6 separate regions of the Homo sapiens genome follow, and all the other regions are linked to region 1. The links are contacts of gene promoters, found by promoter capture Hi-C in blood cells and fetal thymus (Javierre and others, 2016). All regions are on one chromosome and are shown on one strand. Each heading gives the region's core, a stretch centred on a gene start or on the middle of the fragment in contact. The rest is flanking DNA. Distances are from core to core; before and after follow the strand shown.

Region 1 (4,285 bases), core at 500-2,999:
ATAGCATAATAGCATAATAACAGTCCTGGGGAAAAAAGGAAACATAACAAACACTAAAAATTATAATTTTACAAAATTCCTGAAATAAAATTGAATTTATATTGTGAAAGGGAATATAATTTACTAAGTATATTAACCCAGAATGACAAACACAAAGTCCAGTAAAACTGCTATATTATAAAGGAAGTGAAAAAAACTCTAATTAGGCAAAAAGATCAAGTGATTCTTAGGGAAAGAAAACCATGTTATAGCCAGCCCTTTGACATTTTATGCTAAGAAAAGAAAATGTAAATAAAGTATCTTAGACCCAGGAAAAATTTATTTTCAACTATAAAGACGACCATCAACCTGTTATTAACATTCAAGGACCCAGAAAATATTGCTTCCATGACTAATTCCTAAATAATCTTCTGGAAAACAGGCTTCAGACAACCTAAATGACAAGAGAGAAATTGACATTAAAAACTGGCAGTATTGGTAAATATATATTTACTAATAGAATAAGATTCAATCATGGATAAAAGAGAGTGTGTATAATGTCTACACAGTCCCTCGCAATATAGATAACAAAAAGAAAAAGAATAGAAAAGGCATAATAACCCCAAATTTTATTATTTTTGTTTTTATTATATTGGTATTTTATTCTAAGACTTTTGTGTGGATAATGTAAATGAGTAATTATGTCATATTCTAACATCCGTGTGTAATTGGGCACCAGAATTGTCAGTAAGGAAAAAAGAAAATACAAAAGTAACATACAAGATATCAAGTGAAAATCCTATGGAATTTGAAGTAACAGAATAAATAAAAAAAAATTTTATCTTTAGATAATATAAGCGTATGTCTGGATTTGTTGGGTTTTTTTTGTTTGTTTTTGAGGCGGAGTCTTGTTCTCTCACCTAGGCTGGAGTGCAGTGGCACGATTTCGTCTCACTGCACCCTCTGCCTCCTGGGTTCAAGTGATTCTTGTGCCTCAGCCTACTGAATAGCTGGAATTACAGGCGCTCTCGACCACACCTTATTAATTTTCATATTTTTAGTAGAGACAGGGTTTCACCATGTTGGCCATGCTGGTCTTGAACTTCTAGCCTCAAGCGATCCACCTGCCTTGGCCTCCCAAAGTGCTGGGATTACAGGTGTGAGCCACTGCACTTGGCCTGTTTTGTATATATGTCTGTACATGTATATGTATATGTGTATGTATATGCATATGTATGGGAGTGTGTGTGTGTGTGTGTGTGTGTGTGTGTGTATTTTCTAACCATGCTCATTGAAAAGGTCTAGAATAGAAGATCAACCTAGTAGCAATGTGTATTCTTTGTCTCCAAATTTTGGTTTTGAAATACGATTTTCCAATAAAAAGAACCAAAGCTTCTCAGAGAAAAGGTTAGTTCCAGGTCAGAGCAAGAAATATTCAAAATGAGCTTAAAACATCTTGTTATGCCCGATAACAAACATGACAGATTTCAAAAAGTGGCTGCAAAAATATTTCCTATTTCACATACTTTTTTCCAATGTGACCTTGCCATCAATAAGTGGACTTTTTCTCAGCCTTTTTTAATCTGGGAGAGTTCTATGACTGCTTTGATGAAAAGAGTATGGAGGAAAAGACCCTATCCCAGTTCCAGCAGTAGATCTTAACTGGTCTAGCAGCTTGCATTTTATACCTCTTAGAATGTTTGCTCTTGGAAAATTCTATCTTGGAACCCAGCTACCATTCTATGAAAAGCCAAGCCATCTTGAGAAGTCATGTGTAGGTGGTCGGTCCCATTGACAACCTCAAATGAGCTGCCAGCCAACAACCAGCATCAACTGCCAGTCAGGTAAGTGAGTCCTCTTGGTCATTCAGCCAAGTTGAGCTTTTGGATGACTACGTCCTCAACTAGCAATTGACTACAAATTTATAATATACCCCGTGGTAGGCAGAAAATGTCTCCCAAAGATGTCAATTTCCTAATCTCCATAATCTGTGAATGTTATGTTACATGGCAAAGGGTATTCTGATCGCTAATCACCTGACCTTAAAATAGGGAGATTATTCTGAATTATCAGAGTGGGCTTAATGTGATCACAAGAGTTCTGAGCAGTGGAAGAGGGAGGCAAAAGAGGAGTGTGGAGTGCTGGGATGTCAGAAGGATTAGGCCTGCCACTGCTAGCTTTGAAGATAAAAGAAAGACAGCATGAGCTAAGGACTATAGGCAGCTTCTAGAAGCTGGAGAAGGCAAAGAAACCGATTATCTCCTAGAGCCCTGAGAAAGGAATACAGCCCTGTCAACACTGTGATTTTAGCCCAATGAGATTAAATTCTGATTTTTGACCTTCCAAAACTATAAGATAGATTTACATTGTTTAAACCATTAAATTTGTGGTAATTTGTTACAGCAGTGATAGGAAATTAATATAGGCCCCAAGTGAGAACTACCCAGTAGAGCCCAGTCGACTCATAGAAACATGAGAAATAATTTTTAAAAATGAAGTTTGAACCACTAAGTTTTACTGCATAGCAATAGATAACTGGAATAGCAAGGAAGTTACCAAGTCTATTAGGCTATCTGAATAGAATTCATAAGCCAAACTGAAAAGGTTTCCATTAGGCAAAGGGGGAATAAATGGAGCATCAATAAGGATAACACTTTAATAGAGTAAATGATCAAATACATTTAAATTCATAACTTCATAAAGATACAACAAAATTGATCACCTTTGCAGGATGTCAAAGAATAAATTCATTATTTGTAAAACTGTTAGGTTAAAAAAAAAACTCAAACACTTAGCCTACTCCTCTTATACTATCAAATACCAGAAGAGGAAAATTTTTTTCTTTATGTAATTTTTCCAGTAACAAAGGAAAGAGTGATTGAATTTGAATATATCTCTACCATGCAATCTGTAAGTAATTAATGGACTTAGGCATTGAGAATTAGTGGCAGCAAAAATTGCAAAAAGAAGTTCCATCCGATAACATGCATATCCTGCTGGGGGAACACACCACCACAATAAAGTAGCCTTGGAAAAAAGAAAAGAAGAGAACGACCTGAGTCTTATGTCTGATAAAGCCTCTGGGTCAACTACCAATTTATGGCAAACACAAAGAACAAAGGAGAGAGGAATACATTAAACTATTAGTACACCAAAAAGATAAAGTCAACAAAATCCAGCATAGGGAATTCTGCATATAAATTTCTTTGTTTCTTCAATAAATAAAATGCAAACAGGGAAAATGGATGGAGGGGGAAGCCTGTAGATTAAAAAACACTTAAAAGACATAATTTAAAGCTAAAACTAAAGTACAGCATTGAAGGATGTCCCCTTGGATAATACAATTAAAAAGATAGAGTTAAAGGGTCTAATCCTGGAGCACTTCAACATCTGGAGATGGATAGAGATGGAGGAGTCAGAAAAGGAATTGAGGAATGACCAGAGAAGCAAGAGGTGAAGCAGGCTGGTATCATAGAGGCCAAGAGAAAAGCATGCTCTGGATGGGGTAGTTGTCAACTGAATCAAATGTTGTCATGAAGTCAATAAGATGAAAATTGAGAAGTGGTCATCAGATTTGCCAGCACACAGTTCATTGGTGACCTTGCTAAAAGCAGTGTCAGAGGAGTTGAGGGCAAAGCTAAATCAAATGAGTGACAGTAACTGGAAGATGAAAAGAGACATTTAATGGCTATTGGCAACTCTTTAAAAATGTTTGCTTGAGAAGAGGAGCAGAGATACAGCCTGGTAGCTAGGGGACAATACGGGGTTAATGGAGATTTCTTTTTAAAGTGGAGTTTATTCTAGCATATTTGTATGCTGAGAGAGAGCTTGAAGATATAGAAGAGAAAAAGAATAAACAAAAAAGAAAAATTCTTGCAGAGTTGAGATGGGATGAAACCCAAAACACACATGGAAACATTGGTCTCTGATAGAGGGAGGGTTTCTCCCTCTGCTAGAGGATGCAAAAGTAAATGCCCATTTGGGTGTATTTGCAGATTTGGTGGTAGGGAGGTAAGGGAATTTCTACTAGATGGATTACATTCTTTCCTTTCAGTTTGAAACAAGCCCATCGTCTTCAAAGATGTGGAGCTGTATCAGGATATCCCATTTATTAACCATGGGATTGAGGGTAGTGGTTTTTAAATTTTTTTTGGACCATTACCCACTAATAAATATATTTTTCTTATGACCCACTATACAGAAACACAGATAATTGAAATAAACTTTCATGGCCCAGTGCTTACTCCTATTAGGTATGTTCTCTTTTCTTTCTTTTTCAAGCCTGCTAGGCAAACTAGACTGGCAA
Region 2 (4,285 bases), core at 983-3,482, 480 kb after region 1:
TTCCTGAGCTGAGCTCAAGGAATTTGTAAGATTTAGTGTTAAACAGGAAGAAAAGTACATGATTGTGTGCTCTTTTTTTGTTTACATTTAAAAATAAGTCAAAATTACTTTAAGTAGAGCCCGACTTTACTACCAAGGGCTTTTATGTACTAGGTTACCTGGAGCACACTCTGGAATTGAGTGCTAATTTAGATGATTTCCTCCTTATTTTATAGAGAACATAAGATGTTTTAAGACATGGACCTTGGCCTTGAAAAGAGGATATAAGTGTTTTCTAATTCAGAAAGAGCTGTTTTCCTAATAGATCATATCAATCACTTCTAATGTAAAACTAAGAAGTACCTCTGATATTTGTCTTGAAAATATCTGCCGGTAGCTTTTAGGCTATAAGAAACAATTTTTTGCCATACTTATAGAGTAGGAGACATTAAGAATTGCTTTATAACTATATACTGTTACCACTAATCCTTTATTTTGACATGTGGACTGATTATCAAATGTTTTCTTCAAAACATTGAAATGAGAGTGGTCAGTGGGTAAACACTTCATGCAATTGCCATAAGTAAAGTAGGTTGGACCAGAAGACTTCAGAAATGAGTTCCCAGTTCAAAAAGCCAAATGGCAGCTGTGTTTGATTTATACCTAAACATTGTCTAACTAACATGAAACAAGTCACAATATAAATCTAGCATAGTTGCTTTTTTTGTGTGTGTACATGTATTTATAGTCTAAGCTTTATAGAGACAGCAAAATTGCTCACATTTCCCAGTCCTACAATTTAGTGGTACCAATCTTAACTGATGTTCAGTAATATTTTAAGGGTGATTGATCCTTGATACATATTAAAGCATGAAAACATCAAAAAATGCTTGAACTCTTCTTTCTTCTTTCATTAAATCTTCCTCACATCAAATGCTCAAGCCGTCTTTAATTGTAGCACAGGGTTGGGGGAGACCTCAGAACTCATTTTGTTCAGTCATCCATCCAGTGCATGAATCTCCTGTACAGTTTCCATACAAAGTAGCCGCCATCACATGCATGAACCCACAGCACAGGAAGCTCATTACCTGGTGGGGTTAAGTCTGGACAACAAGGTTATCCAGAAAGCAGCAAGAAGTTATCTGATATAACTTGAAAAGGCAAAAAATACAGACCCTCAGGAGGTCATTTTTGCATAGGAATGGCCCTACAAAAAGACCAGTTCCACCCTAGATCCAGCCACCAGCACTCCTAACCAAGGAAGTAAGCCCCCAGTCTGAACTGTCGTTAAAGCACGTCTGCTCTGAACTCAGGCTGAAGGTGCTGTGTGACCGTGTCACCCAGCATTCCCCATCAGGTGCCCATCTCCTATAAAGTCCCCTTTGAAAACAGAACATTAGCCTTAGATTTTAGTGTTCTGCTAGTATCATTCACAAATACCATGGCTAGCCTTGCACGGTGCTTGGCCTTTGTAGGTACGGTCCACACATTCCTAAGTGAAAATTATAGTCAACTTAGGATCATGAGATGTTAAAATACAGTGAACCATTGTGTTCCAAATATTATATAATTTGAAGAAACTACTATGCCCTTGAAACTAGGAATTCTTTGATTCTTAATATTAAGTAATTCAACCCAGTTATTAATCCAGTCTTTTTTTCTAGTTCCCTTTGTTTCAGTTTGGCAGTTTTTACTGTACTTAAGTGGAGAAATTTTAGCTGTTTTTTATAAAGATGCCTTGCCTTTGCTTTAAACACAATAACTGCCCAGGGCCTATATTTTTGGCCACATCTTTATTTTCAGAGGGAAAAAAGGACTTTTCTTCAAATGTATTTTCCCAAGACAATATGGCTGTCATTGTTAATTAAAATGGTTCTCTAGTATGTAACATGATTCTTGTGTTTTCCTCATTGTGTTGAACATTTTCCAGTTGAAACCTAATGAGCTTTTCTTTTAGTAAGTGCTGATATATGTGAGTGCTTAGGGTAATTTTTCTTTTATTCCAAAAGTATTTTTTGCTGTTGTTGTACTTAAACTTGAAAGCTGGATGAAGTATGGTTGTTCCCCAGTTTGGTTATAAAATGAATGTCTGCTAGGCCACAAAGTATGGAGGACAGATGGGAACATCTTGTCACTAAAAAAGATATGTTGAACTCATTTGTTCAAAATAATTAAATAGTGTTTCTAAGCTAGGAAACATGAGTTTCAAGTTATTGAGCCTCCTGAAAACATCATTTTTTAAAACTATAGACATTGAAGATATTGCACAAATCTGGAGGCCTGCTTTTTAATGTACGTACCAGATGTCCCCAACTGTCACACTTCTATTACCCTCTTAAATACCAAAAAGTAGCCTTTGTTCTTCGGTAATAATAGACTTTGTTCATATGACTGCTACATGTACATTTCTTCCAATTTAGTAAGTGATTATTCATCCATATAGCTAAGTAAAATATTTCCACTGTTTATTGTGAAATGTTTGGATGCCAGCAATGGATTCCAGACACTGCAGAACATGAAATGAAGTGTATTGTTTTCCTGATCATTAGCTCCATATTTTTAATTCGATGATAAATTAATAAGAAAATAATAGTTGTAACTAAGGAAGGGTAGATGGGCCAGGCTAAGGTTTAACAAAGGGCAGAACAGTCTGGCAAGAATTAGTCTTATATACTATAAAAAGCAGGAGCTTAGTGGACATGCCTTTTGGACGATTACTTGCCGTTACAGGATGAAAACAGTTTACGAAGCATGTCCCCTTAGCCTAATTAATATGCCTTCAAAACAGGTCATTTATGCTCTGGTCCAGAGAGGAGTCAGTCCTACTGTTATGGGCCACTAGGGCTGTTAGAAGCTATGTGGGTCATTTTTAGAAATCTAGCAACATCTCCTCCCAATTCCCAGCCCAAATCAGTAAGGATCCATGTCACTTGGTCCACTTTATAAAACATAGCTGGGTGCAGTGGCTCACACCTGTAATCCCCACACTTTGGGAGGCCAAGGAAGGCAAATCACTCGAGGTCAGGAGTTCAAGACCAGCCAGGCCAACATGGTGAAACCCCATCTCTACTAAAAATACAAAAATTAGCCAGGTGTGGTGGCACATGCCTGTAATCCAGCTACTAGAGAGTCTGAGGCAGGAAAATCGCTTGAGCCTGAAAGGCGGATGTTGCAGCGAGTCGACATCGCGCCACTGCACTCCAGCCTGGGCGACAGAGACTCTGTCTCAAAAAAATAAATGAAACAATCACAACAGAAACATTCCCTTATTCACTGAACATTTCAAACCCTGAAAATGTGTAATGAGAAATGACAAATTTTTAAAAGTTTAATTACTAAGAAGACAAAAAATGTCTATTATGAATAGACCAATTCTCAATTGGTAGAGAACTTTGAACTGGAAAGAACCCTAAAGAAATCTCCTGTCTACCCCTGTTATTACAGATTAGAAACCGAAGTCCAGGAAGGTTGAGCAGGCAAGTCTCCAGGCTGAGTTCCTGATGTCCAGGCTGGAGGTGTTTCTTCCCTGACCCTTCCCCTGCCTACCCTGGCCACTGAGAAGGGCTGAACAGGAGCTAAATCTGGAGGGTACAAATGTTATTTCCCTTGTTCTTTAAGATTACCACCAAAAAGGGAAAAGAAAAAAAGCCCCACAATAAACTACTCTCTGAATTTTACCCAGGACCATAGAGAAATATCCCTGAATTTCACCACTAGCACTATAATATCAAACTAGTGATCAAGTATAATCATAAAGCTTCAGTTTGCTTAGGAAGTCTATGAAACGTGATTTTAGGTCTTGCGTCTATTTCAAGATTTATAGTTTTGAGTATGAAAAGATTCAACCCTCTAAGTGGAATATGACCCTGTATTTTGAGTGTAGGCTTCCGAGTGCCAAGCACAAGGAGGCAGTCAAGTAGGGAGTCTCAGAAGGTCACTTATAAGACTTGGGTATTCAAACATCAGTCAGAGTGGAACTTCTCAGCAAAAGAGAGGCCCTGTAATAACATGCTCCCTCAGTTGACTAGACGTCCTACAAATGCAAGAAAGGTGGGAATATGGAGACCCCAGGCCAGGTCCTGCAAATGCTTTGCAGTTTCTGAGTATGATGCTCTATAGCTTGCAGCTGGAGGCACCTTTGTCTCTAAGCTTCTGCCAGCACCAGACAACTGGGTTGAAGATCTAGTGCAGTTACAGATGAGCAAGTGTGTTCCTGGAACATGTAGGTCAGCTGTGGAGTATATGACTTCAGTGACAGTTTCTTGGGCAAATCTCTATGATAGTGTAACTGTGACAGTATAAATGA
Region 3 (4,285 bases), core at 634-3,133, 460 kb after region 1:
TTAAGAGCTCTACCTCATTCTTAATAGATGCATGGGACCCATTTTTTATAGATATATCATAATTTATTTGCATTTTCCTCCTAATGGACAGTTAGGTTGTTTGTTATGTTTAGCTGTTAGAGATGATGTAGTACATACATTGTTCTCCCTGCATATTTCACATAAGTACTAGGGTAACTGGGATCCAGTAGAATTGCTGCATCAAAATATATGTGTATTTTTACTTTGAGAGATATTACGTAGAATTGCCTTCTAAGAAGGTTACACACGGATTTATATTTCTGCCAGTAGTTTGAGTGCCTGTTTGTCTATACCTTGTCTACACTGCACTAGTGCTGCATATTCCAAGTTTTTCATCTTTGCCAATCTGATAGGTAAAAAGCTGTACCTCATTGTTTTTAAGGGCTTTTATTGAGTTATGACTGAGGTTGAAGATTTAATCTGTTCATCAACGACTTTATTTCATTTTGTGAAACTACAAGTTCTTTTGTCTATTTTTATAATTCGTGAAAGCTTTTTTTTACTAGAGATAAGCTAGCACCTCGTAATATGCTTCTCAAGTATTTTTTCCATTTTGTCACTTCTTTTTATTTCATTTTGGTTTTAATTTACAAAACTGTTTAACATTCTTACATAGTAAAATTAGTATCTTTTTTATGTCTTCTAAGAAAATTTAAGCCTTTTTGAGATTTTTGTGATTGAATAATTTTGCCTGGAGAATTTATATTGAACTTGATTTTTGAGCTCAAAGAAATTCTTAGTGGAGAAACCACCTCTTTTTCATTCATCTATCCAAGAAGTGTGCTTGACTTAGATATTTTCTGAAATGCCTCTGAAAAGTATGCAGCAAAATGATGTAGGAATCATTTATGAAATTCTACCTCCCAAGGAAATCTTAGAAAATAAATAGTTCTGAGGACTTCCATATTCCCCCGTGTGTATAGAACAGCTATGTAGAAATCTCTGCTTGTAAGAGAGTAGAGAGGAGACTGGAGGAAGGAAGCCAGCATATAAATTATTGTCTCCATATTTAACCCTAAGAGGACTCATTTCCTCTGGTTTAAACAGTCTGTTTCTCTGACAATGCAGGTAAAATTAGACTTTATGTCTTGGGGGGAAAATATATATAATGTCTATTTTTTAGGCCCAGCCTCTCAGTGATTTTTTTCTAGAAATACTGCAGTGTTCTCAAGAAGCAAAGTGTTCTTGATTTCAAAGGACTAATAGCCTGCTAATTGATAAGCAATGTTTTGTACTACATTCAGGGACTTGGGTATTTGATGATCATAATTTAAATGATACAAACTACAGAAATATATATATATATACTCTAAAATGTTCATTTCAGAATAATCATGGCATGTAAAGAAAACTTTTGAGGAGATAAAGAATTGATCTTTGAAAGATAAATTTATGTTTATTTCTAATGCCATAAATATAAATATTTTTAATCACATGGAATCACCGTAATAATAGCTAAACTAATATGTTTGTGGAATTGCAAATAGAAAGTATTGGTTGGATAAATAATGCAGTGGCGTATCAGTGTTTTCCATTATTTGGAAGGGGAAGTAATGTTATTAAAAATTAATCAGTGGAAATGCTTCTGAAAAAATTATTTTTTATTTATTTTTATTTATTTTTATTTTTTTATTTTTTTTTGAGACGGAGTTTCGCTCTGTCACCAGGCTGGAGTACAGTGGCACGCTCTCGGCTCACTGCAACTTCCGCCTCCCGGGTTCAAGCGATTCTTCTGCCTCAGCCTCCCGAGTAGCTGGGACTACAGGCGCCTGCCACCATGCACGGCTAATTTTTGTATTTTTAGTAGAGACGGGTTTTCACCATGTTGGCCAGGATGTTCTCGATCTCTTGACCTCGTGATCTGCCCGCCTCAGCCTCCCAAAGTGCTGGGATTACGGGTGTGAGCCACCACACCCAGCCCTGAAAAAATTATTTCTAATACCAATTATAGAACATAATTATTTGAATTCCAGTTTCAATAATAGTAAATTATAGTGAGCTGTCTACACATATTCATTTTACTTAATCTACAGAGGCTATTTACTGTAATTTTTTAAAATGCTAATCTATAGGACTGTGTACTTGTGTTTTTAAACACACGAGCGGGTAAACAAAAATAGTTTACTACTATTTATTATGTCATTCAGAAGGATTCTTAATATCAAGAAAGTGCTACATCCCACTAAAGTTCTAAGTCTTTTATTTCCCATTATAGCCTATCACATAATAGTAATTCCAATTTACTAATGATCCTATAACGAGTGAACATCTGCTGGTTATTTTTTATATTTCTAAATGCAAAAAGCTCATTTTGTTACCTTTCTCATGAAATCATAGTCTGTGCTTACAAAACCTTTCAGATTGCATGGATTCCAGTGACGAATCCAGCCAGATACTTGTAAAATGAGAATATAACATTGTAATCGTGGTGCAGAATGCTTTGTCTTATTTCACATCCCTGTGCAGTAGTGGGAACATGAGGACTCAACCGATGTCAGAAGCATCCAGTCTTCGGCTTGGCTCTGTCCAAGTGTAAATGATCCTCAGTGTCTTGCACTGAGTCGTGAGTGTCTGTGGCTCTGTTGGGTGTTACAATAGCACCTCATAATGATAAGATTATCGAGGACTAGGTACATTCACCTGTCTGCTTTATGTCACTGTTAACAAAAACTGTGCACTTTTGTCTAAGGTATTCATGGGCTCCATAAAGAAATAGAGCTTAGACTCTGCTAAAAATGATAATAATAATGAGAAATTGGCCAGTGCCTAAAAAGCTGAAATCCTCAAAAGGGAATTTTGCAATAGCAATCACAGTGTCATCTTTAAAGTTGGTTTCCATGGCCCCCTCCTTGGTGTGCTTACCTTCCTCTTTAACCTGGTGTTTGTGGAGGGCTCTGTGGAGTTCAGACTTTTCCTCACCATGTGCCGTTGCTCCATGAGGGATAGCTGTGTCCAGTATTGGGTGTATAATGACAGAACACTGACCTGTGCTTTCCTGTCAGCTCGGCAAGGAAGTAGCTCTCTAATGGGGGCGAATCACATTTCCTTTTGGACTCTGTTTCCTCGGTTTTGAAATGAGGTTTGGCTGGATAATCTCCCAGTTATAAGATTGTATAAACCTGTGGTCTTCGTTATAGCAAGAGGGGAGCCAGTAGCTAAAACCCACATTGATTCGTTTAGTTTCTTTCCATGTCACATTGCTGTCCAGGGTAGGTAATAATCATTCACTTTAGAAGCTTTATGCATGTGTTAACTTTCTTGCCTCTCCTCACTAACCAACATGTAATTAGCACTCTTATTCAGGTCCATTTGCTTTTAGTTGTGATTTGATTAACTGAACTAACAGGATGGGAGCAATCTTTTTTTTTTTGAGACAGACTCTGTCTCTGTTGCCCAGGCTGGCGTGCAGTGGCGCGATCTCGGCTCACTGCAACCTCCCGCCCCCAGATTGAAGCAGTTCTGTGCCTCAGCCTCCCAGGTTCAAGCAATTCTCTGCCCAGCCTCAGCTGGGATTACAGGCGCCTGCCACCATGCCCAGCTAATTTTTGGATTTTTAGTAGAGTCGGGGTTTCACCACCTTGGCCAGGCTTGTCTTGAACTCCTGACCTCGTGATCTACGTGCCTCAGCCTCCCAAAGTGCTGGAATTACAGGCATGCGCCACCGTGCCTGGCCAATCTTACCTTTTTATAATTACTTACTTTGTTAATGATTTGCTATTTTTTTAAAAGCAAATATATGCTGACTGGCTTCAGATATGTTTGTCCTTTCTCTTATATTTGGGATATACCCTTAATTGATATTTTTACAAGTGACAGATTTTACTTACCAATAATGGAAGTCACAAACTTCTGAGCATCATAATATAGAAAATATTCAGTCTTTTTAAGAAATTGAAATGTTTGGGTTTGAAGTATACCTTTTTATCATGAGTCCCATGTGTAAACATTAGTTATTAGCAGTTTGAATCAAAATATTTAAAATGATTTAAGGTTCATGTACTACTAACTTTGTACTTTTTCTTTATACTAGAAAGAAGGTAAACAAGAATCTGGTATGTGAGTTCTTATAAAAACAGTTTTTGGGTTTGATTTTTTTTAAAAGAAAGGAAAAACAATGATAAATAGTATTTCATAATAATGTTAGTTCACTGATAATATTACAAAACTTATAGCACAAAACTTCCAGTGTTTTTCTGTAAAAATTATATGTGAGTTAATTGACATTTCAAAACAGCTTTTAAACATCAGCCTTTACCAAGTACAT
Region 4 (4,285 bases), core at 1,196-3,695, 440 kb after region 1:
TAAACACAGCAATCACAACTGGTATTTACTTTCTAATATTTTAACTGTATAATGTTGTGGTTTTTCTTAAGTTTACCCACTTTTCAGCCATATTTATGACATTTAAATTGTAACCATGGCAATAAGCTATAGTTAGAAGAGTAGCAAATTGAAAATTTATGAATAAAATAGTAAAATCTTATTTTCTTTTCTTTCTTTTTTTTTTTTTTTTTTTTTTTGAGACGGAGTCTTGCTCTGTTGCCATAGCCGAAGTTCGGTGGCGCCATTTTGGCTCACTGCAACAGCCACCTCCTGGGTTCAAGAGATTCTCCTGTCTCTGCCTCCTGAGTAGCTGGGATTATAAGCGTGCACCACCATGCCCAGCTAATTTTTGTTTTTTTTAAATTACAGACAGGGTTTTGACATATTGGCCAGGCTGGTCTCGAACTCCTAACCTCAGGTGATCCGCCCAACTCTGCCTCCCAAAGTGCTGGGATTACAGGCATGAGCCACTGCACTGGCCCATATTTCCTTTTCTAGTAACTGTAGATGCTATTTATAACTTTGAGTATATATTAATAATTGGGATAAAACAGCAGTGTTGCTGCTGCTTTTTCTATAAATTTTGACAATTGTTTTTTTTCTTTGCTGCTTTGACTGCAAAGATACTGAAGATAATATGAAAATCATCTATCTTAGAATTAGGCAGTCCTACTCAGAATAAATGAGGAGTGGCTTAAATTTGAAAAATATTTAAAAGACCATCAGTCCACTTAGTCTTTGGCTGGGTCTTGACAAAAGCAACCTCTTTATTCGTTTTTTGGTTTCCTATACAAAATTTCACAAAAGGATTTAGGATTGAAGGTCCTCATTTATCCTCATTTATTTTTATACTTTGCATGTTTACTTTCAGACACTTTCTCTACCTTTTTTCTTAAGTTTTACAAATTTGACTTGAAAAGCTTAGCTCTTTAAAAGCCTTTCAGCAATAGGTGGATTGTTAGAGATGCAATGGTTTGATCACTGCTTAGGAGCGATCCCTGCTTACTCAGGTGTTTTCAGGATGTTATATTCTGTTGAAATGTGGTAAACTGGAACCAGCCTTTGAATTGGATTTTTAAATAGCTAACCTACTGCAGCATCATTTTCTAAGGAAGAGCTTAGGATGCCCTAGGCAGAAGAGATTTTCATTTCACTCTCATTTCATTAGATTCAGGAGACTCTAGCTTGCTTGTTTGTGTGTTTATTGTTGAGGGGCTGGGGGCAGAAGTTAAGGAGGGTAGGACATTTGAAAACAAAAAGCCCAAGTTTCTGAAGTATGGGAGCTGAGAAAGATACTTCCCAAAGAACGAGGAAGAGCTGCCCATTCTGCCAAACATTTTTATTTTCTCAGGTCTTTAAACTTCTTCCCTAGAAGTAATAAAGTTGTTTTGGAGCATTTATGCTTTATTATTATCTTGACTTTTGCCCTTTCTCTTCATTATTCTGTACCCTCTAGCTTACCAGTGTTACATATTTGCATTCTAAAAATATAAATGCACATCTTTTGTGTTTTTTTATGAGGAGCAGTTTATTTATGTTTCAGCTTTGTCTTTTCTTGCATGTCTTATAACCTTGTGTATTCTGCTGAAACATTTCCGAGGGAATGTTATGTTAGCGCTCCCTTCTGTTTCCATAATATTAGTGTGTCAGTTTTTCCATTGTTCACTGCTTCACATCTCGAAATATACAATCTCTGTGTGCCATCAAAATTTGAGGTAACTTGTAAGAACGTATATAATACAATAAAAAATAAACATCAAAATCACAGAAAATACATACTAGAATAATAGGTAAAGGGTGATGAAAGTGAGAAGCATGTATAATCATAATTCTTCATGAGCGAAAATGCTATACAGAATCTTTTTCTTTAAATCCTTTGAACGTACCTCTTTTTAAAGAAAAACACCAACTCAATAATAAAAATAGCTACACACAGTATATGCTACCCATCAGAAAGAATCTATAGGTTGAAGCCATGGATTGAAGTTTTTTTGTCAAAACAGTCATTGATTGTTACTTAGGTCCCCCAGTCACATTCCATGAAGTGAATTTTGCTGCAAGTCACAATATCACAGTTTTTCTGTTTGCGAGAAAAAAAAATTACTAGAGTTTAGGTGGTTGCCAACTTGAGTAGATCTGTGTAAAATGCAGGGGAGGAGAATCGGCCTCAGAATCCAGCCTCCCTCCGCCCCAGCTCTTCCTAGCACATTAGACCAGGAGCAGTCCGTCTTACAGGGCTGGAATGTGCTGCTCTGTCCCCACCAGCCAGCCAGCCAAGCTCATTCTTTTTAACACTGCTGTGTTCCTAGAAAAAGAAAGTGTTCGAGAAATTGATGGATGTTACGTAGGTGATAAAGAATTGGTGCTCATGGGTAAGAAATTAGAGGCCAAAAAAGATTGGAATCTCTACCAAAACAACAAGTGAGAGAAATTTTCTGGTTGACTCAGAAGGCACTGAGGGGTTAATAGATTTGGATGAACAGGAGAGAAAATAGTAACAATTCTGTGCAGTTAGGAGTTTTGATGTTTGACAGTAAATATGGAAGGGAAGAAAAAAGACCATAGTAAAATAGGAAGTTTAAAACTGATTCTATAACTTCACAGTGCTGCATTCATTTATTGTATAACAGGTATTGAAGTGGTATGATTTTAACATACTATTCATTTAAATCATTACTGTGTGAAATACTGGCATTAGTTAATGTTTACTACTAAATTTAAGACTGTAGGAGCTAGGCTGTGCATTTTGTTTATGTATTTAAATTTTGTTTCTAAAATGTATAGATACAAGTTTCTTCCACTGGGATGAGCTTTAAAAAATAAAAATAAAAAAACATCAATACCGAAGATAAATGACAAATGAGAAAGTAGTCCTAAGTCAATTTATCTTTTCTTTTTTCCTCCATCTGGTGCAAGTAATTTACAACACAAAAATTCATCAGCACATCATGAGATAAGAAGTTGACTTAAATTGAAACACTTTATGCCTCAGTAGAAATGTACTGAATTTATAAAGGAGATACAGTAGGAAGTGAGTGTTGTATTGTACATGTTCATAAACAAAATATTAGATCAGCAATCATGTATAAAGGACTATTATTGAGGATTTTGGATGCCGTCATTTATTATAGCCATAAACTTTACAAATGACAAAACTTTATCATATATTTCTTCCTGTTTCTCTTCTAAATATAAGGATGATAAGAATTTCTTTTAAAATCAGCTGTAGAGTACAAGTTTCTCTCCCTTATTTTCTACAGGCCCATTTAGCCACACAGTCTTGACTGCCTTTTTACCAACTGCAGTGCTATAGCTTCCTGATTGCCACTATAAAAGCTCTTCTTAACTTACTGTTTTAAGATGAAAATAAGATATGCTTCTTTAAAAAAAAAAAAACAGCCTGGAAGAATCTGAGTAAAAGGTAGAAATTTCCTTCATTCCAACATGTTCCCATACCATGACCAACACACCTACACAACTGCACACACACACACACACATAATGTATAGGAAAAAATCTGGAATAATGAAACACCCCAGACTGTTAACTGTGTTTGTATGTATGTCTAAGTATCCACACACATTTGAGTTGTTTGTTTTGGTTTAACACAAATGAAGATACACTCTACGTTATTCTGTGACTTTTAAGTTTTTCCCCTAACATTACAAAGTAATGGATGTGTTTCTATATCAGTATATAAAGCCCTATTTCTTTTTAATGGCTAAATAGTATTCATCGTTTGAAAATTTATATAACCAGTTTCTTATCAGTGAACATTTTGTTTTTTCCAGTTTTGTACTTTGACAGACAATGAGAAGATTCTTTCTGCACATATATGAGTGTCTCTGATAGGATTTCTGTAACTGAAACTTCCTGGACAAGGGTGTATACATTTTAATTTTGACAAATATTGTCAGTTTGCCCACCAGAAAGCTTAACAATTTATGCTCCTACTGATAGCACCTGGTAGTCCTATCTACACTTACTATGTTACCAGAGTACAGGAATGTAAATCTTCATGATTATTTAAAATTTTAATAAGTTACTAGGCTTTAACAAAAACATTTGTTTCAAATTTCTCTATATCATAAAACAGGAACAGATTGAACAAAGTAAGATAATTTTTAAATATCATTATTAACTATTCATTAAATCATAACACTCCATGGAAACTTGAGCATACCCCGGACCATCATGCTAATTAACTCGTTCTCATGGAGATTGGAGATCAGCATGACCTTAGAATATAGTAAAAGTATCATAC
Region 5 (4,285 bases), core at 487-2,986, 310 kb after region 1:
AAGCCACAGATATGACCACATTTATTTGAAGATGACACTGAGGTTAGTGCTTGTAGAATCGCAAGCTTTTAGACCAAGGAAAGATGTTAGAGATCACCATATGCAGTTCTTTCCTTTTACAGGGGAAGAGCTTGAGATCTGGAGACATGGTCCCTGAGGGTCAACATGCATACCTGTATCAGAAGGCCTGGGCTAGGTACCTTGTTTCCCATCAGCTTATCTAGCCGGAAATATCAGACTTTGCTTCTCCTCTCCCCTACTAATTGAAAAAACAGGAAATGATCTAGCCAACTCAGCTGGAGGTGTGCTTTTGACAAATAAGAAATTAGAAGGAAACCATGCCAAAATGAATGAACTACTTAACTGAAGCAAAAGTATCAGCTCCTGTACCGTTGAGTTAGTAATTATGGCCTGATACCTCAGGAAGTCAAGCATCAGGGGATAGACCCCGTAAAGAAGAAAGAAGTATCAGTCTTAAAGTAAGGTTTCCTGAAATTCTGCTGTCATATTGATCAACTGGGATTAGGCTGAAGTCCAATTTCCTGGCAACAATATCCTGGTTTAAAAAATGGTTAAATTGGGGCATGATGGCACATGCCTGTAATCAACGCTACTTGGGAGGCTGAGGCAGGAATATTACTTGAACTCAGGAGATCGAGGCTGCAGTACACTGTGATCCTACCTGTGAATAGCTACTGCACTGCAGCCTGAGTAACATAGCAAGACACTCATCTCTCAAAAAAAACCAAAAGTCCAAAGCCTCATGCTAACTGAGCTATAGACCAGCTTCTGAGGTATGCCAATAAATAAATTGATGACTGTACTAATGTTTCATATATATAACTGATAAGCCAGGGACAAGGTTTATTCCCTCAGTTCTTATGTTCTAAGAGAAATTTCTAGTTCTGGCTAAAAAATGTTTTCAGTGTCCTAAAATAGACTGGCAAAGGTTAGAGATCTTAAATTTGCAGTTTTGTTTTGAAAGGGTGTGGTTTGAAGCTTAATGTTAACCTCATGTTAGCTATAAGATGTAAGGCTGTTGAATAGGAGCTTATAGCTTTATCCCAGATTTTAAAGACATTATTATTTAGATTTTTTTTTTGATTAGGGAAGCATTCAGAAAAATTACTTCTGAACCTTAAAAGTAATTGTATTAAGTTGTATGTTTTGTTTCTCCCATTCAGTGAGTTAGAATGTTGTAAAATGGGGTTTTCACAAGCAGATGACGTGCTGTGGTTTTGATTTTCATAGTAAATCCTTTAGACTATGCCGATAGTAGTGTTTTTTACATTCTTGTGTTTAAAGACATTAACATGTTTTAGAAGAGTCGTACTAAGTGCTGTCCTAATCAAGATAAATGGAATCATCAGCAAGCCTGTAGTCTGCCCACCGCTCTCTGCCTTGGCAATAGCTCATCGTTTTTTGTTAAGTAGTTTTCTAAATATTTGGATAGATCGCCTAAGTTATCAGTGATGGCTTAAACCTTAATTCATTGTGATAAAGCACAAGCAAAATGTGAATTATCCACATAGTATTTTGGTAACTGTTAAAAAACATAATTTGAACTTTTATTGTAAATGAAACTGATGAACACTAATGATAATTAAACTTTTTGCTTAGGGTTTGTATGGCACATTTTAAATATGGGACAGTACAGAGAATAATGTATGGAGTGCCCATGAAACTATTATTCATATTTTTAAAATCTTGTTTGCCAAGTTTGCTTAAGGATTCTGAAGTTGGTGTTTATCCTCTTCATTATGTTTTTATTTTTACTACATATCTGTATCTCCATAAACATGGGCTTTTAGATGTGGAAAATCTTTGTTACAGTTATGATTTCCTGTCACATTTTCCCCAGTATTGGAATTAGTAAATCCCACCCACTAAGTACTTCCATGGAGAGACTTGTTTCTATTCCTTTCTAGGCTAGGCTGCCAAGCCAGCATTCTCGAGGAGGTTTCTATTCTTTTTATTTTTCCATTAGTAGGAGTTACCTAAGTAGTATTGTTTTTTAAACCTTTTTAATTCTCAAACAATTTAGATATTAAACATTAGCTAACTTTTAAATTCAGCATTTAATTTTTAAATTTATTTTATTATTATTATTTATTTTTTGTCTTTTTTTGATACAGGGTCTCCCTCAGGTTGGAGTGCAGTGGCACAATCTTGGCCCACTGCAGCCTCCACCTCCCGGGATTAAGCGATGCTTCCACCTAAGCCTCTCGAGTAGCTGGAACAACAGGCATATGCCACCATGCCCGGTTAATTTTTGTATGTTTTGTAGAGACGGGGTTTTGCCATGTTGCCCAGGCTGGTCTTGAAATCCTGGACTCAAGCGATCGGCCCGCCTTAGCCTCCCAAAGTGCTGGGATTACAGGCGTGAACCACTGCCCAGCCCAGTTTTTAAAATTAATTTTTTATTTTGTAATTTAACATTTTTTAATTTTATTTTTCCTTAATATAGTCTTATTAAGCTTCTATAGGCAGACTGTCACTTTTGTACTTAAAATGAGAATCATGGTGATGTCTTTATCAATTTGGAAAGGAGTTCAACTAATAGCAACTGTATTAAGGAAAAAAAAGCTTTATATTCTGTCATTGATGGCAGGTGAATAAAAAGCATTAATAACTCTTGATTTATTCTTTAGTCTCTGGTTTACTGTATGACCCAGACAAGCAATCCTTTTTCCAAGTCATGACATGGAAATGTGTATCTAAAGCATTTATGATTCCTCTGTTTACTTGACTTAATATTGAAATCTAGGGCTTGCCCATAAACTGGTTCCACAGTTTTGCTTCTGCCCTAGCTACAACCGGGGCTGCTCATGTGGCTTAAATGTTTGTATCCTTCGTCAGCTGAGGAGGATATCAGAAAGGGGAGATTCATCTTCTTAGACGTTGATTCTGAACTGCTACTGCTTTACAAAGAGCACCAAATTGCAGATCTGTCCCATATCCCTAGGTCAGGAGTACACGCCTGTGTTTTTCTACCCATAAGTCAGTGCCAACTCACAGGTTTTAAAGATTTCTGTTAAATAGTTCCTTTTGTCTTAATTTTAAGTATCTAGCAACTCAAAATTTGCCTCCTATATGGAATTTATTTATTTAGTTATTTTTATTTTATTTTATTGAGACAGAGTCTTACCTTGTAGCCCAGGCTGGAGTGCAATAGTGCGATCTCGGCTCACTGCAACCTCTGCCTCCTGGGTTCAAGTGATTCTCCTGCCATAGCCTCCCAAGTAGCTGGGATTACAGGCACCCACCACCACGCCCAGCTAATTTTTGTATTTTTAGTAGAGACAAGGTTTCACCATGTTCGCCAGGCTGGTCTTAAACTACTGACCTCAAGTGATTCACCTACCTTGGCCTCCCAAAGTAGCTGGATTACAGGTGTGAGCCACCGCGCCTGGCCTCTGGGATTCTTTTTTTTTTTTCCAGTTGTTTCTACTTACAGAAAAATGATTTATTAAAATGGCCAGCATTTCTTTAAGAGGAATAAAAACCACACCCGAGATATTTAATGAAAAATTATATAAATAAGAAATTAATAGAATTTTAAAACTAAGAATTGAAGTGCATATTACAATTGAGATGTATTCTCATACCATAAATTCACTCCTATAAAGGATACAGTTCAGTGATTTTTAGTACATTCACAAAGTTGGACAATCACCATCCCTATCTAATTCCAGAACATTTTTATCACACCAAAAATAAACCCCATACTCATTAAGCAGTCATTTACCATTTCTCTCTCCCCTCAGCACCTGGGAACCACTAATCTTTCTGTCTTTATGGATTCGCCTCTTCTGGACATTTCATGATTTCATGTAAATAGAATCATGTAGTACATGTCCTTTTGTGTCTCACTTTTTTTACTTAGCATGTTTTCAAGATTCATCTATGTTGTAGCATAAATCAGTGTTTCTTTTTAAATTAATTTCTTTTTAAAAGTGATATTATACTTTTTGTTTTTAAATATTGAAATGAGGTCTCACTATGTTGCCTAGTCTGGTCTCGAACTCCTGAGCTCAAGCAATCCTCCCACCTCAGCCTTCCAAAGTGCTGTGATTACAGGTGTGAGCCACCACACCTGGCCTCATTTCTTTTTATGTGTGAATAATATTCCATCACATGGTTATACCACATTTGTTTATCCATTCATCAGCTATGGGCATTTGGATTGTTTCCATGTTTTTGGCTGTTATGAATCATGATACTATAAACATTTGTGTACATTTTTGTGTGAACATATGTTTTTAGTTCTTCTAGGTATATACCT
Region 6 (4,285 bases), core at 1,340-3,839, 300 kb after region 1:
AAGAGAAACTAGAAGAATGCTTCTCTTCTTGAATGCAGTATATTGCTGTAGGAGTATCTTCGTTTTGGTGCCTGTGAAACAGTTATGGAAAATGGCAACATGAAAACGAGAACAACTAATGTCTGAAATAAGTGTTTCTGGGTGTTGAAAAGCATCATATGTGTGTTTTTATTTGACACAATTTGCTTTGCAGGTTGCATTTATGATAAACCTCTTTGCACCTGGTTATTTTATGTCAGATTCAGTAAAATAATAAGTCAGTTGTCTGACCAATCAGCTTTCTTCCAACACCTACTTTGTGTAGATCATGGACATTGAAAACTATTAAATAGGAGCCTTTAGTTAAGGACTCAACAGAAAGGAAAAAAAATAGAAAAAAATATTTTGCACTCAGAAACGTTTATGTTTTGGTTGCTACGTTGTTTTTCAGCTATGTGCATAATCAGTGAATCTTCTAATTTAGAGGTTTAATTTGTGTCCAGTAACACTGTGGAGGATATTGGGAGGTGTTTGTAAATGCCAACAGGAAACTTTTATTATGTAACAGTATCATATTACAGCAGTGTTTAACCCATGCTTAACCCGTGCTTTTTTGACTTGATGTCAAGATTGGGAAGTAAAAGCAAATTTAGTTTCCCTGCCGCATTAGAAATTGAAAACCCTGTTCAGATGTATGGATCACACACACACACACACACACACGACACACACACACACGATTGGCTGTGCAGATAGTTTTGCCTGCTTCAGGTAAAGGTAACCTTTCAGTTAGAAATGCTTTCTATTTGTTACAGATATTCAAAGAGTGGAAGTTTTTCAACTAGTGATCCTACACAATTGAAAATAACCGAAATTGTATTTTGACCAAAGTGCATTCCCTCCCCACCCCCTACTATTATGTAAGGAGAGGGTGCTGCATCTGGTGTCTTATGTATTATACTGAAGAGTCTAAGTTGGGAAAGCTAAATATCCAATTATTTTAATTTTTACCTGTATTGTTTTTGGAGGGAGATAAGGGAGCAGAGTATTGATGGAAAACAAGGGAAGAAGAAACTAGGGGCAGCTAGTATTCAGCCAGAAAGTAAAATTATATACATTATTGCAGCAGTAATGCATTTATAAGCTGAATAAATCAAATCTAATTTTGTGACTAGTTCTGACATGATATGAATTTAAAGAAACTACTACCAAATTCAGTTTAATAAAAATTTTAGCATTTCTATGACCTTGAGTATTTGGATTAGGTTTAAATTAGAATCGCAGTTTTCTTCCTTTTCTTGTAAATAGGCAAAGTAAATTTAATGTAAAAATTTGAAACTCGCTTTAATTTTTGAAAATGCAATTATTGGCAATTTTTGACCTTAGTAATTTCCATGCTGTTACCCAGGGATCAATTTAAATAATATTCATACCCTGGATGATGCCAACCATCAGGTAAGTCTAGTCTCTTACCTGACTCTTTTGAAATATTAAGGTATTTTGAGAATGCTCTGTAATCTAATGTGTTTTTCTTTCTGTTTCAATTGAGCAGTAATTCCCTACCTTGCTTAATTCTAAAATGGACATCATATCTTCATTCTTAAATGGAAGGTAAAATAGAGGTTACTATAGGGTTATTTTAGGGCATAAATGCCTATGGTATTGTATGTCAGTTTGGGAAGTTTGCCTTCACGCCTTCAAGTGTACAGGGAGATAGTTACTCCTTCAATGTGTGAAATGATTCTGTAGTGCCCTTCCTGCACTGAAGGGGGAAGAAGAATCTGAAACATAACACCAGAGGACTAGGTATGTTTGGAGAATTAAATAACTATTTCACAGCCAGACAACACTACAGACAGCTGCAAATAGAGAAAAGAAGGAAAACTTTTAAGATACGTGGATGTAAGCTTTCATTCTTACATCAATGGAAGTGATGATAGCAGTCAGCAGGTCAGTTCGATGCTCAGTGATAAGAAATAACAGGGTTATTTCAAGGTAAGGTAATCAGGCTCTAAGTTGCCAAGAACAGTAATTCATGTACTTGCTGGTTTCAGTTCAGAAGTTGCATAACATTCAAATATTTCTTACCTTGTCACTTTAATAATTCAGTGGAATTATCTTAATTTAGTGTGCTATGTTACCATTACTAAATTGGGGATGTTACATGATGGTGATCTTCAATTAAACTTAGGAATGTTGCAGACATTTTCTTCATCATTGACCTGTTGTTTTTCCTTTTCATAATTCAGATTTGTTTGATATACCAATAAATGTTGGCTATATCACTGATCATTTTATTATTCATAGTCTTGATAACATTATAGTTTATTATGACTCATATATAATGATTCATTGCAGCTGATAAAATGTTGTTAGGGATTGTATTGTGAGATTTTATTACTACCAAATATATAAATTAAAATGTGGAAGTGTCTGAGTTATTGTAAGTCATGTGATTGCAAAGCATTTTTCCTGAATGGAATAATGCCTGGTGACTGGGTGGGTGCCAATCCAGGTAGCTAGATATAGAATAATACAGTCTTCACAAAATCCAGAACTCACAATATAGGGTAGGGAGGGAGGGGGCCAGGGGAAGCACCTTTCTTTGACATCTGAGGCATGTTTGACTTCTATAGTTTCCTCTCCACTAAATATAAATTGGGTGAGTTGCAAATATTTAATGGTGTTAGTACTGCTCTTCCTTCATCTGTGCCCCTACACTGCCCCCACCACCCTGCCACAACACACACACACTATGCCATCACCACATCTGTGAGCTTGGCAAGGCAGAGGAAGCTCCTTATGGCCTGAGACCATGTACATAAAATGTAGACATTGGTGTCCTGTATTCCAGGTTGAATTTAAAACAGGTATGGGGTTTGACACAAAAATGATACTGTATATGAAGGTTAGGTAAAATATGTATTTGAAGTGAGGCTATCAGGGTACTATGCAGGCTTTTGGGGCCTGGCCCGAAACTTGGAATGCAGTTTTTCATAGAAACCCACAATCAGTTTACAAATAGACTTTTGAAACACTGGCTAGGTGGTATCTGAAGTTTTGGCCCATTGCAAGCTGTGTCTGAATTGCAAGCATGAGGGAAGTAAAAAGCATCCCAAATCAGAAATTAGGAGATCTGCCATTAAACCTTATTACCTTGACAAACCATTTAATGTTTGGATGATAGCTTCCTCCTTTTAAAAATACAATTTGGATTATATTGATCTAAGTTATATTTTAGCTCAAGATTCCTGAAGTTCACAGTGGTTTTTAAAAATTTTTCTTAAGAAAAAAAAAAGAACAAAAAACTTTTCCAAGCTTGAATATACATAATCAGCCCTGTTTCCCCTTGTACCTCAAATCATGGCAACAAGGAAGTTGAATTTCTCTTTTGAGACTTTTGAACCTTCTTCACATTCATTTTTAATTGTTTTGTTTTAAAACAATATCATTTTGGGAAGTGAGGGGAAGGGATGAAGCACATGTTTTCAAAGTCTTGCTGTCTGCCTCTACCCTAGTCTGAGATTACATATGGTAGTTTTGGCCAGGGAAAGTGCTTGGGATTTCACCTTCATACTCAGTGAGGCTCATGAAGTGTCATTAAGGTAGTGAGGTGTCATGATTAGCAGCCTTACTGTCAGGGTCCAATTCTGGCACTGCAACTTGCTGGCTGTGTAACCTGGCAGATTGTATAATCTCTGTGGTCCTCGTTTTGCTCATCTGTAGGATGGAGTGATAAAAGTACCCACTTCATATGGTTGTTGGGGAGATTAAATGAATTAATACATGTAAAGTGCTTACAACAGGAGCTGGTTCAGAGCCAGCGCTTAATACATTGAAATAATTATTTTTACATTGTGGTGCTTTTATGATGGTTTCTGCAGCATTTACCAAATGCCAGGGAAATTATTGGCTTGCTTTCTGTGTGGGTTTTGTCAAAATGATTATGGATTTCAACAGGATATTTCAGAGAAGAAATAAACTGCTGAACAGAAACCATTGTGAGCTTGATAGTTTGCAGGACATTGTAGAAAAGAGAATCCAGCACAGTAATTAAGGGCCTTTTTAAGTAGGGAAGTTGTAGCTTCTTGCGGTAGGCAATACTTAGAGAGGCATTAACCACCGCTAGCCAACAAGTATAGGAGAATGTATACAATTATTGCGTTTGTAATCCCAGGTAGTAGTCATTTTATAAAATGTCTTTGCTAGTCAGTACATGAATAAAGCGTTAGAAAGTGTTCATCATTTAACACCATTTGCCCAAATGCAGCTTGTAAATTAACTCTTTAAGCTGGCTTTTCTGTCT

What was found. The method cuts DNA at HindIII sites, captures the fragments that hold promoters and counts their contacts. A CHiCAGO score of 5 or more calls a contact.
Region 2: a contact is called between a fragment that was not itself captured here and the fragment with the promoter of CCDC148-AS1 in region 1, in 3 of 17 cell types (endothelial precursors, M1 macrophages and megakaryocytes). The highest score is 7.6, in endothelial precursors.
Region 3: a fragment that was not itself captured here is called in contact with the fragment with the promoter of CCDC148-AS1 in region 1 in 2 of 17 cell types (M2 macrophages and M1 macrophages); the score reaches 6.1 in M2 macrophages.
Region 4: a fragment that was not itself captured here is called in contact with the fragment with the promoter of CCDC148-AS1 in region 1 in 2 of 17 cell types (endothelial precursors and M2 macrophages); the score reaches 6.6 in endothelial precursors.
Region 5: a contact is called between a fragment that was not itself captured here and the fragment with the promoter of CCDC148-AS1 in region 1, in 1 of 17 cell types (megakaryocytes). The highest score is 5.5, in megakaryocytes.
Region 6: a contact is called between a fragment that was not itself captured here and the fragment with the promoter of CCDC148-AS1 in region 1, in 1 of 17 cell types (megakaryocytes). The highest score is 6.0, in megakaryocytes.

The regions. Positions count from the first base shown.
Region 1 is chr2:158,164,901-158,169,185 of GRCh38, forward strand. It overlaps CCDC148-AS1 (CCDC148 antisense RNA 1), which reads left to right and starts at 1,750. Exons shown (of 5, transcript NR_038850.1): 1 at 1,750-1,823. The HindIII fragment of the contact is 5,438 bases long and covers 1,370-4,285 here.
Region 2 is chr2:158,645,787-158,650,071 of GRCh38, forward strand. All of the region lies in intron 11 of PKP4 (plakophilin 4), which reads left to right. Among named protein-coding and RNA genes, the nearest start is that of PKP4-AS1, 87 kb to the right of the region's middle. The HindIII fragment of the contact is 3,003 bases long and covers 732-3,734 here.
Region 3 is chr2:158,626,338-158,630,622 of GRCh38, forward strand. All of the region lies in intron 7 of PKP4 (plakophilin 4), which reads left to right. Among named protein-coding and RNA genes, the nearest start is that of PKP4-AS1, 110 kb to the right of the region's middle. The HindIII fragment of the contact is 2,744 bases long and covers 512-3,255 here.
Region 4 is chr2:158,608,614-158,612,898 of GRCh38, forward strand. All of the region lies in intron 4 of PKP4 (plakophilin 4), which reads left to right. Among named protein-coding and RNA genes, the nearest start is that of PKP4-AS1, 120 kb to the right of the region's middle. The HindIII fragment of the contact is 3,013 bases long and covers 940-3,952 here.
Region 5 is chr2:158,477,122-158,481,406 of GRCh38, forward strand. All of the region lies in intron 1 of PKP4 (plakophilin 4), which reads left to right. Among named protein-coding and RNA genes, the nearest start is that of PKP4, 22 kb to the left of the region's middle. The HindIII fragment of the contact is 1,478 bases long and covers 998-2,475 here.
Region 6 is chr2:158,459,111-158,463,395 of GRCh38, forward strand. All of the region lies in intron 1 of PKP4 (plakophilin 4), which reads left to right. Among named protein-coding and RNA genes, the nearest start is that of PKP4, 4.3 kb to the left of the region's middle. The HindIII fragment of the contact is 1,411 bases long and covers 1,885-3,295 here.